Linked DNA regions of Homo sapiens: region 2 is linked to region 1. Evidence: promoter capture Hi-C in 16 types of primary human blood cells and fetal thymus (Javierre and others, 2016). All regions are on one chromosome and are shown on one strand. The core of a region is centred on a gene start or on the middle of the fragment in contact, and the rest is flanking DNA. Distances in the headings are between cores, read along the strand shown.

Region 1 (6,218 bases), core at 2,159-4,658:
CCGGCGTCCCCGCCCCGCTCCCACCGCCCGCCCCGCTCCCACCGCCCGCCCCGCTCCCACCGCCCGCCCCGCTCCCTCCGCCCGCCCCGCTCCCTCCGCCCGCCCCGCTCCCTCCGCCCGCCCCGCTCCCTCCGCCCGCCCCGCTCCCTCCGCCCGCCCCGCTCCCGCATCGCCTGCCGCCGCCCCGGGGCCCCCCTTCCTCTTCCGCCAGGCCCATCCCCCTCCCCGGGCCGTCGCAGCCCTTCGAGCCCCCTCCCCCACCCCCGTGCCTGCCGCACCCGCTGCGACAAGCCCCTTCCCCGCCAATCGCGGCGCCCCCCTCCCCTCGCCTGCCCGCCGCAGCCCCCTCTCCCCGCCCGCCCCCTTCCCTCCCCGCCGCGCCCACTGCACCAGTGCCCCCTCCTCGCCGGGCCGCCGGCGCTGCTGCGTGTCCAGACCCCTGCGCACCCGCTCCGGCTGCGCGGTTTGCCGTCTTCGTCCCTGGCCGCGGCGGCTGGCGACTGGCATCGGGGCGCCCGGGACCCCCAGGGCGGCGACGCTGCCGCCGGTGCCGCCGAGCCTTTGTTCCGCCGCCGGGGCCGGTTTCACGCCTGTCGCCCTCGCAAGCAGCCGCGGGTGACAGGAGCCTTAGCCGGCCTGGGGCGCGGACCCTCCCACCCGGGGCAGAGGTGTCCCTACGACGCCCCTCGGTTTCGGGTCGCAGTGCGCGGCGGAGGTTCTGCGGCGGCGGAGGGGCTCCTTGGCGACGCTGTCATTTGGGTGAAATGGTGGCGGGGGGGCTTCGGGCAGACGGCAGGGGTGTGGGGAGGGGAGGGAAGCACGATGGGGTGAGTCTGGGGGCCGTGGATGCCGTTGACGAGGAGCTGAGATGCCGTGGCCGGTCCACCTCGCAGGTGGGGCCAAGGCTGCCTCTGGCTCAGACGTCAGGAGCCCAGGCGGACAGGGACTGGCCAGGGGCGCAGGCTTCTTAGAGGATGGGGCAAAAGTGAGGAAAAGATCCTCTGCAGCCTGGGCAGTGGGTGGTCCCCAGGAAACCCCCTGGGTCGTTTGTCCAGTGCACCCTCACCCCAGGAGGCTGCTGGACGTGCCGGAGGATGCCACAGCCACCGGAGCTGGTTGGGGTCCGAGAGCAGATGGGCCAGGGGCTGGGGCAGGCTTCGAGAAGAGGGTTCGGGCTTGGGGAAAGCCTTCGCAGCCATCGGCCAGCCAGGAAGGCCCCGTTGCCGGGTGCAGAGCTGAGTAGAGGGCAGGAGCGGGGAGGCCTAGGCTCTTCCCTTGCGTGTTGGGGGGCTGCGGTGCCTGGAGCTCTGCACACAGCCCTACTCCAGCACCGTGGGAGGCAATGCAGGCTGACTGTCCACGCCAAATTCCGGTACCTTAGGCATTCGAGTCTGTTGACACTGAGTGTCTAGGACGAGGCTGTAAAGGTGGATAAAGCCGGCTTTACAGTCTGCACCTCCTGTGTGAGCCGTGGAAGCTTCTGGAGGGATGGGCGTGGCGTGGCGCCATCATCTCTCTGCATTCTCCTTGGGAGGGCTCCAGAGCCACTGGTCACGGGCAGCTGCCAGGCTGGGTCTGGACAAATGAGGTCTGGGTCCATCATTGGGGATGGGGGCCACTGTCAGGATGGGAGTCTCGCCTAAAGCTTTGGGGTGAAGGTGCTGATGACCAAGAGGAAACTGCGGGGTGGGGACATGTCAGCAGGGGACGAGAATGCATGACCTAAAAGGTATCCAAAGTTAAGGCTGGTGGGGGCTTAGTGAGGAGCAGCAGAGTGGGGTGGTCCAGAACCGTCAGGATCGGGAGGGGGAAGATGGAACGAGACAGCAGCTGCCTACGAGCCAGGGAGCAAGAGCTCTGTGCTTTAACCTGAGGAGCAGGAGCCTGGGAACTGGAGACTCTGGGTTTGAGGTGGGGGATGAATCTGCCATTAAACAAATAATCCCCTTCCCCCCCAAAAAAATCCTCAGAGCACTGGGGAAGGGAAGTGTCCCAGTGACTGAGGGAGGGGAGCGCTGTGGAAGGATGGGTCGGCTACAGCAACTTCAGCCCAGGGATCAGGGAAGAGAGGGTCCAGTCCCTGGCCCAGCGGGGAGCAGGCCCGGTGACCTTGACCTGAGCAGCCCCAGGGCCAGAGGGAGGGGTGGGCCGGAAGGGCCCAGATGCCTCCCTGCACGGGGGGAAGGGGATGGGCTGCCGGGACTCACCCCCTAGGTTGGAAAATGCCTCCCTCTGGGTTGGAGGAGGAGAAAGGCCAGGAAGGAGAGGGAGAGGGACATGGGGAGGGTTCCCTCCTGGCCTGAGGCCTCTCTATCCCCAGGTGTTGAGCTGAGAGAAGTGGTGGGGAGGCCCCTGGGGGTGGGGAGGCCCCTGGGTGGGGAGATTTAAGATGACAGCTGGTCTTGGGCACATTGCTCTCCATTCAGAAAGGCCCCAGCCCCTGGCATTCTTCCAGGAGGGGGCTTGCTTTGCCGCCCTGCAGGGGGACTCTGCAGAGCCGGCCTCTGCCATCTCATGTCCAGGACCACAACCTGTGGCCCCGGCCTGCGCCGGGCCGGAGCTCCGCAGAAGGAAGCCAGCGGGAGGCCTCCTGCCTTTGACTGCCGTGCGTCCAGCCTGCAGCGGGCCTCAGGGGGCCGCCTCGATCCAGCCTGCCCGAGGCTCCCAGGCCTTCGCCCGCCTTGCGTCCAGCCTGCCGGGGGCTCCCAGGCCGGCGCCCGAGCTCTGGCTCCGTGTCTTCACTCCCGTGCTTGTCCGAGGAGGGAGGGAGGGACGGGGGCTGTGCTGGGGCAGCTGGAACAACGCAGGTCGCCGGGCCGGCTGGGCGAGTTGGCCGGGCGGGGCTGAGGGGTCGGCGGGGGAGGCTGAGGCGCGGGGGCCGGTGCGCGGCCGTGAGGGGGTGTGAGAGGTGGCTGACGGCGCCGAGGAGCCCCTCAGAACCTGCAGGTGGGGGGAGCTCCCATATCTTACGGGTGTTTCGGGCCTCACCTCTCCATGCCTCTCGTCAGCCTCTCCCGTCTGCGTGGTGGGGGCTGGGGAGTGGGTCCGCCGGGACCTCGCGAGGGAGGGGCACAGGAGGAGCCGGCGGGGGACGCCACCCACCCTCCTCCCTAGGAGTGCTTGAGCCCTAGTCCTGAGTCTTGGACCAGCTCACTCGGTTCCTGTGGCCCAGCCAGCCTGGCCTGGGTGCCCCGTCACAGCTGAGCCCATCTCAGCTGAGCCCAGGGTGTGTCACCGGGAAGCTCAGCTGGCACCTGCCACCCCCTCCCCCAGGCACGTTTCCCTCCCACTGCCCAGCCCATTACCATCATGTGTCCGGCTGACCTGTGCTCTCCTGGTCTGGGCAGCCTGGATGGGTGCACAGGGCCCCATCACAGCCCACACCCTCGGAGAGACGCCTCCTGAGTCTGCTCAGCCTGGCACAGGCCCCAGGAAAGGACCCGGAGGGGCGGTTCCTGCTCTAAATCCTGCCCCCACGGGGGTGGGACTGGGGCAGAATCCCATCAGTGAATAAAGGCTGCAGAGTGAAGGATGGTCCCTGGCGAGTGTACCTGTGTCCCAGTCTTCTTGCCTGAGGGCGCCTTCCCACCCATGTGAGGAGTGGGGAAGGAGCACCCCTTCTCTACTAGGCCCCAGGGCTCTCAGAGCCGGGCTCTGTCCTCACCCCAGCTGGCTCCCACAAGGCCCTCCTGGCCCCAGACTCTGTTGGACCCCCAACTCCCCCTCCAGCAGGCATCTGGAGGTAAGGAGGGGCGGGGGGCGCAGGTGCACTTGCCATTCCCGCTCTGTCTGCAGCATGGGCACATGTAAGTCCAGGCCCTGGGGAATCCCTGGACCTGCAGCCCCTGCGGAGGACTCCCTCCCCCTCTAGCTCAAGCCAGAGCCCCCTGCATCAGTACATTCCAGAACTCAGACAGGAAAAGAGGGCAAGGAGGGAGCGCTCCAGGATAAGAACCCCTACCTCGGCCCTCCCTCGCTCTCCCAGGCCCCTCTGACAACCTGTCTCCTTGCTGTCATGTCAGCAGGCACAGAGGCTACAGGGGCCAAGCGGCAGCCGCCCAAGCCCGGATTCGGGTTCTCTGTTCCCTTCTCTTGTCTCGGGCTCCTCCCTGAGTGTGTGTACTTAGAGGGTGCGGAAGATCAGCAAACTCAGTCTGACCCAGGCATTCAACCTCTGGGTAGTTACCTAGTCCTGGGTCCCCACCCCAGATGGCCTCTAGTGGGTAAGGGCTTCCTGGACCCCAGGCCTGAGGGGTGACTTCTCTTGCAGTAAGCGGGTAGGGCACTGCCTGCGCTGCTCCAGGCCCTGCCTGCAGTGGGGCTACAGATCCCTGCTCCCACCTCCAGGCAGGGCTGGAGCTGCTGCCAGCTCCCCCAGGACAGCCTCGAGCCAGGTGCCTCTGCCCGGGCTGACCCCGCCCTCGGTCCCGGTCCTGGCTCCCTCTCCTGCCTCTCCTCCCTGGCCTGGCCTTCACTTCCTGCTGACCCTCAGGAGGGCGTAAAAGAATGCAGGACCTGCTGCATTCCAGCCACCCTGGCCCAGGGTCCCAGAACAGGATGAGACAGGCCCCTGAGGCGGCAGTCCTGAGGAAAGTTGCTGGAATTCCTGCTGACAACGCCCCCCCTTGACCCCACCCCTCTGACCAAGCCAGGCTCCTGCTTCCACCTCTCCACTGTGCCTGACCTAGGCCAGCACCAGGAGGGCCTTAGAGGCGGGGGACGAGGCCCAGAAGGAACAGTGTGGCCCCGTCAGTGTGGAGTCCTGAGCTTAGGCAGCCGGAACCACTTGCCCCCTCACTGTATAGCTGGGACGAGACCTCATCCCTGTAAGCCCCGGTTTTCTGGTTAATAAAATGAGGATTGCGGCAGCCTTCATCACAGTGCGATGCACACCCTTTAAAAAATGCAGTTTTTCCTGATGCCACACACCCATTCCAGGTGGGCCCTGAGGTGTGCACAGCAGGGCTGAGAGCTGACTCAAAGCCTGTCCTGTCCCCACTCCCCACAAGGAGGTGAAGCTGTCTCTGATGGCAGTGCCGCTGTCACTGCCTCGGACGCTGGAGCAGAGTAGCTCATGGCAGGCTGCAGAGGAGGGGACTCCACAAGGACACCAGGAGGCACAGGGTGCACCCTGCAGGGCTTGGGGCATGGTCCAATGACCCTTTCATGGGGCCTGCCAGCTGCACCAGAGCACACCTGCCCCCATACCAGACTCGTGCCTGGGGTCCTGCAGGGCCACTGCCTCTGACCAGCCCACTGTTGGTGGGATCTGCCGTCCTTGCAGTGGGAGCTTGGTGCCCCCCAGGGCTGGTGTGGGAAGAGAGGGGGATTGGATTCCTTCCTCCTTCCCCATCCTCAGACATGGGCCCAGGCAAGGGGTGCCTTTCGGGCCTGGGAGCCTTCTCCACACTTGCACACAGGAACCTGAGGCCAGTTCTTTGCTTGCAGCTGCTGGGACAGCAGGCTGGGGGGCAGGACTTGCCCAAGGGGCCTCCTGCCCTGTAGAGGCAGCCGTGCTCTTGTGTCACGTGTGGGAAGCTACGGGACCGAAGCCAGGCCTTTTCCTCCCTCCACACCCCGACCACTTCTGCCTTCACCCAGGGCACCCCCCAGGCTGGCCCACCCCTGAGCTGTGCTCCACCCTGGGTCTGCCATCCTGCCCAGGAGAGCCTGAGGGTGCCCTCCTGGCTCCCAGTGCTGTCCCAGCCCCTCTCCCTCACACTGGCCTTTCCCCACAGGTGAGCACCTGCGGATCTGTCCCCAGGGCTACACCTGCTGCACCAGCGAGATGGAGGAGAACCTGGCCAACCGCAGCCATGCCGAGCTGGAGACCGCGCTCCGGGACAGCAGCCGCGTCCTGCAGGCCATGCTTGCCACCCAGCTGCGCAGCTTCGATGGTGAGTGCCTCCCACGGGCGCTCGGGGCCCGCAGGGTGCCGGTGCATCGGGGGAGGGGCACACTGGGCCTTGCCTGGTGTGTCAATGCCAAGGGTGGGGGATTGGCAGGAGGAGGTGGGGGAGTTAGTGCTTTGGGGCTAGGGCGCTGGGTTGAAGCCCCAGCTGGGATTTGGGGGCTGCCCTCAGGCAGGGATCTGCAGGGTTTGACACCCCCCTGGGAGTGTGCACAGCCCATTCCCAGTGCACATTTGGGGACAGAGGGCCTATCCCATCAGCCCCTCAGAGGCTCCTGTCACCAGCAGATTCTCCTGAGCACCTGCA
Region 2 (6,704 bases), core at 3,299-5,798, 250 kb before region 1:
CTTGTGCTGGGTGTGTCCTTGGGTCTTGCTTCTCCTCTGTCCCTCCCTGCCAGCTGCTTGGGAACTGGCCTGTCTTCTGAGTTTGCCTGGACCCTTACTCCAGGCCTCTCTCTGTTCCATGCCCTGCAGCCCCAGGTCAAGCTAGGTCCACCAGAGTAGTGGCAATGCCTGATAGTGGAGGTGGATACACAGCAGCTCCTGGCCAGGCTCACAGTCTTCACAGGCTTCATGGTGCTGCGACAAGGAAAGGGGCTGAGCGAGTCATGCCCTGTCTGTGCTCATCACCATCCATCACTGTCCATCACCGCCCATCACTACTCATCACTGTCCATCACTGTCCATCACCACCCATCACTACTCATCACTGTCCATCACCGACCATTACTGTCCATCACCATCCATCACTGCCCATCACTACTCATCACTGTCCATCACTGTCCATCACCGCCCATCACTACTCATCACTGTCCATCACCGACCATTACTGTCCATCACCGTCCATCACAGTCCATCACTGTCCATCACCGTCCATCGCTGTCCATCACCATTCATCACTGTCCATCACTTCCCATCACTACTCATCACTGTCCATCACTGTCCATCACCGTCCATCACCGTCCATCACCGTCCATCACCGCCCAACACCGCCCATCAACATCCATCACCGCCCATCAACGTCCATCACTGTCCATCACAGTCCATCACCGCCCATCACTACTCATCACTGTCCAGCACTGCCCATCACTGTCCATCACTACCCATCACCATCCATCACTGCCCACCACTGTCCATCACTGCCCATCACTGCCCATCACCGTCCATCACTGCCCACCACTGTCCATCACCCCCCATCACTGCCCATCACTGCCCATCACTGTCCATCACTGTCCATCACCATCCATCACTGCCCATCACTGCCCATCACCACCCATCACCATCCATCACTGCCCACCACTGTCCATCACTGCCCATCACTGTCCATCACTGCCCATCACTATGCATCACTGCCCATGACCGTCCATCACTGCCCATCACCATCCATCACCATCCATCACCGCCCATCAACGTCCATCACTGTCCATCACAGTCCATCAACACCCATCACTACTCATCACTGCCCATCACTGTCCATCACTGCCCACCACTGTCCATCAACCCCCATCACTGCCCATCCCGTCCATCACTGTCCATCACCGTCCATCACCGCCCATCACTGCCCATCACCATCCATCACTGCCCACCACTGTCCATCACTGCCCATCACTGTCCATCACTGCCCATGACCGTCCATCACTGCCCATCACCGTCCATCACTGCCCACCACTGTCCATCACTGCCCATCACTGTCCATCACTGCCCACCACTGTCCATCACTGCCCATCACTGTCCATCACCCCCATCACCATCCATCACTGTCCATCACTTCCCACCACTGTCCATCACTTCCCACCACTGTCCATCACTGCCGTCACTGCCCATCACTGCTCATCATTGTCACTGAATTCCTTCCCCAGGGTATGCACCCGTTCCTGATCATAGCCTTTGGCCATCCAGGGAATGGGACCATGAGACATGACTGGCCCCGGAGAAGTCCCTGGTTACTTCTAAGTCAGCCAGACTGGAGCTAACATGAATGCAGTGGTTCTTAACATTTTGTGCTGCCTGGAGATGTTTTTGGTTGCCACACCTTGGAGGAGGGTGTTCTGGAATCTGGCAAGTAGAGGGCAGGGTGTGCAGGGCAGCCCCCACAACAAAGAATGGTCCAAGCCAGGACATTGCTGGTGCAGTCGGGGAAGCCCTGCTTCCCCCCTCCCCCACCGTCCTGCCTGGCCAATGCCCATCTTTTGCCCCTGCCATCACCCATTCATCACGGTCACAGGGCTCTGCAAACTGCTACAAACTCGTGGCATTTCCAGCGGCTTCCCATTCCTCACCCTAGGCTTTGAACTAACTGGGAAGGAGCTGTGGCTGGCACAGCAGGGCTGAGGCTATGGCTTGGATCTGAGGGCTTCCACCACACCCCCAAGCCTTGGCTGGAACCCCTGTGGGAGAGTTGGGTCACTTTGTTTCAAGGAACATTTGAATGCTTCAGGTTCCGGAACAAGGGAAGGGAGTGGATCCAGCCTGGCTGGCAGCTCTGAGAGCTGTGGCTACACGGGGCACCCAGGCCCACCCACCCTCTGCACCCCTCACATGAGGCATCCCCGGGCAGCCCCTCACCTGGCTCCAGGGGCCAGCTCGTGTGAACCAAGGCCCAGGCCTCCATGGCCTTCTGCCCGCCGTGGCCAGTCCTCATCTCCTGCAGGGTGATCGATGGCAGGAAATCCACTCCTCACCTTGCCCGGCTGCCTTCCCGCCCCCCAGCAGACCCGGGCAGGAGAACAAGAGCACCTCAGCAGCACACTTCGGGGTCCAGCAGTCCACTTCTCAGGGACCCCTGGGGCTTCCCAGGGATTTTCAGACACTGCCTTGACATGATGTCACTAAGGGGTCCTTACCTAACTGAGTAGGGACCCCACAAGGGGACAAGAATGTCTCCCCCAGAACAAAGACAGTCTTTTCCCCTGAAGAGAGGAGGTCTGGTCCCCACCTCCTTTTATTCTCAGGTCTACCTGTGACCACATAAGCCACACTAATAGAATTCAAGCAATGGCTTCAATCCAGGTCCAGTCATTTCCCAAGACCTTGCCTTCACTCCCATCATCATTCACCGTGTGCTACATTTAGTGGGGCACTTGCTGCTGGTTTTTAATAATGGAATATATAATTCACATTATATTGAGAAAGATTTCTTCATTTTCTACTTCTCACAAGAAGCTTTAACACCAAAAGTCGGCGTGATGGTTTTAAAAGTAGGCCCACAGATTATCTGAAATGCCCTCCTGAAGGGTGGAAGGTGGAATTGAGTTCTCTTCCCTTGAGCGTGGCTGTTCATGATGAGCTTCTAACAATAGCACAGAGCAGAAGCGATGGTGGAGGTGAAAACCCGACTGGCACAGCTTATGAAAACGCTGCAGCGTCTATCTCGGGCAAGCTCTCTCACTCTCTCTCCAGGCCAGCTTCCTGACCACAGATGCTGTGAGATAGCAAATGTCTATTGTGTAAAGCTGCTAAGTTTTGGGATGATTCGTTATGAGCACTGATAACTAACACAGCTGTCAAACATGCATTTTGTGCTTGCATCTGTTTAAAAATACCACTTGTTTTTCTTTATGCTGTTAGTGTCATGAACTATTTCTTCACAGTTCCCACACTAAAACCTCCATGTCGCTGGATAGGCGTTACTTCCTCAAGGCCTTGCTTCCAGCCCGTGCTCTCCACCCTGCTCATCGTCCGCCGGGTCAGTGCGGGGCTTCACCAGCTGCACTGTGGGAAGGGACAGGCCACCTCTGACCACCGGCCTGCCTGGGATGCACTCACATACCACGGGAGGAGCCCATTGCACGGCGACGCCCAGCTGCTCCGGATGCAGGGGAGGACAGGCCAGTGAGGGCTGAGGGTAGCGAGGCTTCTGCTGCAAACCAGCTGTGCCGACTCAATCCCTCCACCCCCCGGCTAATCCCAGCTGCAGCTTCTCCCAGCCTCTAGCCATTCCTGTCACTGGCTACATGGCGGTACTGACTTGAATTTTCAATATCAGATGTTGCCCCCATTTTTACTCCAAAAGCTAAAGGTTCAGCCACCTTGCGCCATCTTCCCCTTCCCACACCACACTTTGCCTTCCCACCAGACCCGCACTGAGTTAGACCACAGCTGGGTTAACTCTGCACTCAATGTTTGCATTACTCTTTGCAAATATTCCCCATGGCTGCTTTTCTGACACAGATCTTCTTCCATGGTTAATCACTGCCTTGCTCTGTCTGCTTAATTTCTATGTACCTGTCGTGAGTGCATAGACTCAGAGCTTTGGCTCTCTGCTTGTTGCTCCTGGAGCTGTCCATGCCCCTGTTCTAGAGCTGCTGCCCCAGGACCTCCCGTCCTCCCAGGAATTCCTTCTGCCTTTGTCTGGGGAGAACGGAGCCCTGGTCCTCCACAGCCCCTGGTCTCTTGGCTTATCCTCCTTGAGCCTCCTGAGAAAGGGGCAAAGGAGGCAAATTGCCTACTTTATCAATTGCATGTTCATGCCCCTTCTCCCTTCATTCCGCTGGATTTTTACCATTTTATCTGGTGGGCGTGAGGACGCCCATCAGACGCTAATGCATGCAGGCTTTTAAATTTGTAATTTTATATTAGTTTGAATGTACATTGGAAACCCCTTATTGTTTCCCTTTCAGCTTCTTTATGAGGTTTTTTTTTTTTTTACCTTACTGACTTAAAAAATGCAATCAACTTGGTGTTTTTTAAAAATACTTTCTGGCCTTGTTAGGCTAAGAAGGGACTTTCCCTCCTCAACATAATATTACACAGCAGTACTCCATGAGTTTTTTAAATGTATGACCCTTTTACCTATTTAAAAGTAGTTTTTGTGAGGCTGCAAAACATCTAGTTTGCTTCTTTGGCCGTGAAATATAGTCAACAAACACATGAGAATATTATCATCTCACTGAAGAATTAAAAATTCAAATGGAAATAGTGAGCAGGCATTTTCTGCTTCCCAGAGCGCCCTGTGTGACAGAGGTTGGCATCGCCTGATGACGGCTGGGCGAGGGGCTATGCCTGCCTGTGTGTCATGGATGGAAACACACAGGGCACCGCTGACAGGGAGAGGCATGAGGACGCCCATCGGACGCTAATTCATGCAGGCTTCTGGCCCAGCAGTGCCACTGTGAGAACTTATTCTCCAGAAGCACTCATACAAGAATACAAACATGCTCACTGCAGCATTATTTTTAAATCCTAAATAACTAGAACCAAAGTAGTGTCCATCAAAATGAAGTTGGTTAAGTAAACCAGTGCACATCCATTATTTATTACAGCCTTCACAATAAATGGAAAACTGTGGTGTGTGTGTGTGTGTGTGTGTGTGTGTGTGGAGTGAGAGAGAAAGGAAGTTGTATCTATATTGATCAACAGAGACTATTCTCCAAGATAATTTCTGTGCACCAATGCAAACAGTAAGTGACAGAATAGTGTAAGTCATATAATTCCATTCTCAAAAAAAAATGTAGAGTTTGCAAGGAAATACACCAAACTCCTCTCTGGAAGGTGAAATTTCAGTTGATTCTTTTTTCCATTTTTTCTTGCTCTTTCTGAATTTGTGACTTTCTAAAAGTTACAGTGAACAAAGATCATTTAAAACATAAAAACAATAAAGCAATTTTTCAAAGGAGCTATTAAATTGTAAACCAGAATAACAAGAGACCCATAGACACCAAATAAGAAGGTTTCCCCTGGCAGCTGGGAAAACGCCAGCTGGGACTGGCTCTGCGGGGGCCACACTCCCTCCACCTCACCCTTGCAGAGGGAGCTGGCTCTGGTCCCTCCATCTCTCGGGCTGCTGCTGTGGTTTTGGGCGTCTGAGAACAGAGGCTGGGGGTGAAGCCCCAGTATCCCCTTGGCATTCACTTCACACCTGCTCCACACTGGACAATGTCTGTCCACACCATTGGCCATGCCCTTTTCCCTCACTAGGGCCTCTGGGAGGAGCCCAGCTCCGGAGATGACCAAGACCTGAGCCTGGACTCTGGGAAGGGAAGGGTCACAGGATGGCACCATCCCCAGGGTGCAGTAAAGTTCCCAGGGTGCAGTGGGGGTGCAGGGTGGTCATTGGCCTGAGCTGGAATCTGGAAGGCTTCCTGGAGGAGGTGGCAGCTGAGACTTGGAGGAAGGGCAGGAGTGCGGGCAGGTGGAGAGGCAGGTGGTGTTGAGCAGAGACCATGCTGAGAACCGCCAGGTAAGCTGTCATATGTGAATATTCACTGAGCCCCCGCTCTGCACAGGGCTAGTGCAAAATGCTGGGCATTACAAGGGGCCAGGAAGAGACTCCCTCTGCCTGCACAGGACTCTGTGTTAACAAGAGAGAAGGGCTGGATGCCCAGCCCCTTGGGTGTCCCATGTGGTCTGCAGCATGTGGGGAATGTCCATCAGGGCACAAGAAGGCCTGAGGCACACAGCAGATGCGTGCGGGTGTTGGCATGGCCTCTGCGAAGGTGGTCAGCCATCCAGGACAGCTGTCGGTTTCTGCTTTGAGCCTGTGTGGACCAGAAGGAGAAAGGAAGTATTGGAGGGAAGGAGCGTAGAGGGGAGGGGAGAGCCAGAGAAATGTGTTGGGGAATCTCATTAATTCCAGCATGCCCTGCTGTTAATTACATAGAAATTAAATTGGCAATAATTCAAGCAGAAAGCTTTCATGTGACGTCACTCCACATTCCTCGCTGAAGCGCCGACTTGCTCTAATTAGCACAAGGATTCCCGGTCCTTTGTCATCTCTGGTACCCAGCTCCTTGCTTGGGCCTGGCCTGTGTCTCGACTTTCTTCCCCCAGGCTCACTCATCCATCAAAATGAAGTCAGTGACTTGCATCTTTAGAGTCCAAGCTTGGAAACCTCCGAACTTGGAGGAATGGAATCCAAGCTGGGGAGAAGGTGGGAAGTGAACCTACCTCTTGTTGGGGGCCGTGACTGAGAGGGCAGGGAAGCAGAGGGCTGAGGGACTCCTAGGAGCCGGAGCTGCTCTGCTCTGTGGACCCGCCTGGGTCCTGAGATCAGGGGCCACGTCACAGGCGACTTCCAGTGCAGCTGAAGTGTGTAGGTGCCACACCCTCCA

What was found. The method cuts DNA at HindIII sites, captures the fragments that hold promoters and counts their contacts. A CHiCAGO score of 5 or more calls a contact.
Region 2: a fragment that was not itself captured here is called in contact with the fragment with the promoter of GPC1-AS1 in region 1 in 1 of 17 cell types (endothelial precursors); the score reaches 5.2 in endothelial precursors.

What each region holds. Positions count from the first base shown.
Region 1 is chr2:240,453,292-240,459,509 of GRCh38, forward strand. It overlaps GPC1-AS1 (GPC1 antisense RNA 1), which reads right to left and starts at 3,409. Exons shown (of 3, transcript NR_161169.1): 1 at 3,306-3,409. It overlaps GPC1 (glypican 1), which reads left to right. Exons shown (of 9, transcript NM_002081.3): 2 at 5,739-5,897. It overlaps MIR149 (microRNA 149), which reads left to right and starts at 2,710; the gene lies at 2,710-2,798. RefSeq lists enhancers at 2,010-2,660, 4,613-5,264, 5,265-5,914, 5,915-6,218. The HindIII fragment of the contact is 6,703 bases long and covers 1,644-6,218 here.
Region 2 is chr2:240,197,381-240,204,084 of GRCh38, forward strand. No RefSeq gene overlaps it. Among named protein-coding and RNA genes, the nearest start is that of OTOS, 60 kb to the left of the region's middle. RefSeq lists a silencer at 928-1,100 and an enhancer at 2,956-3,457. The HindIII fragment of the contact is 3,467 bases long and covers 2,816-6,282 here.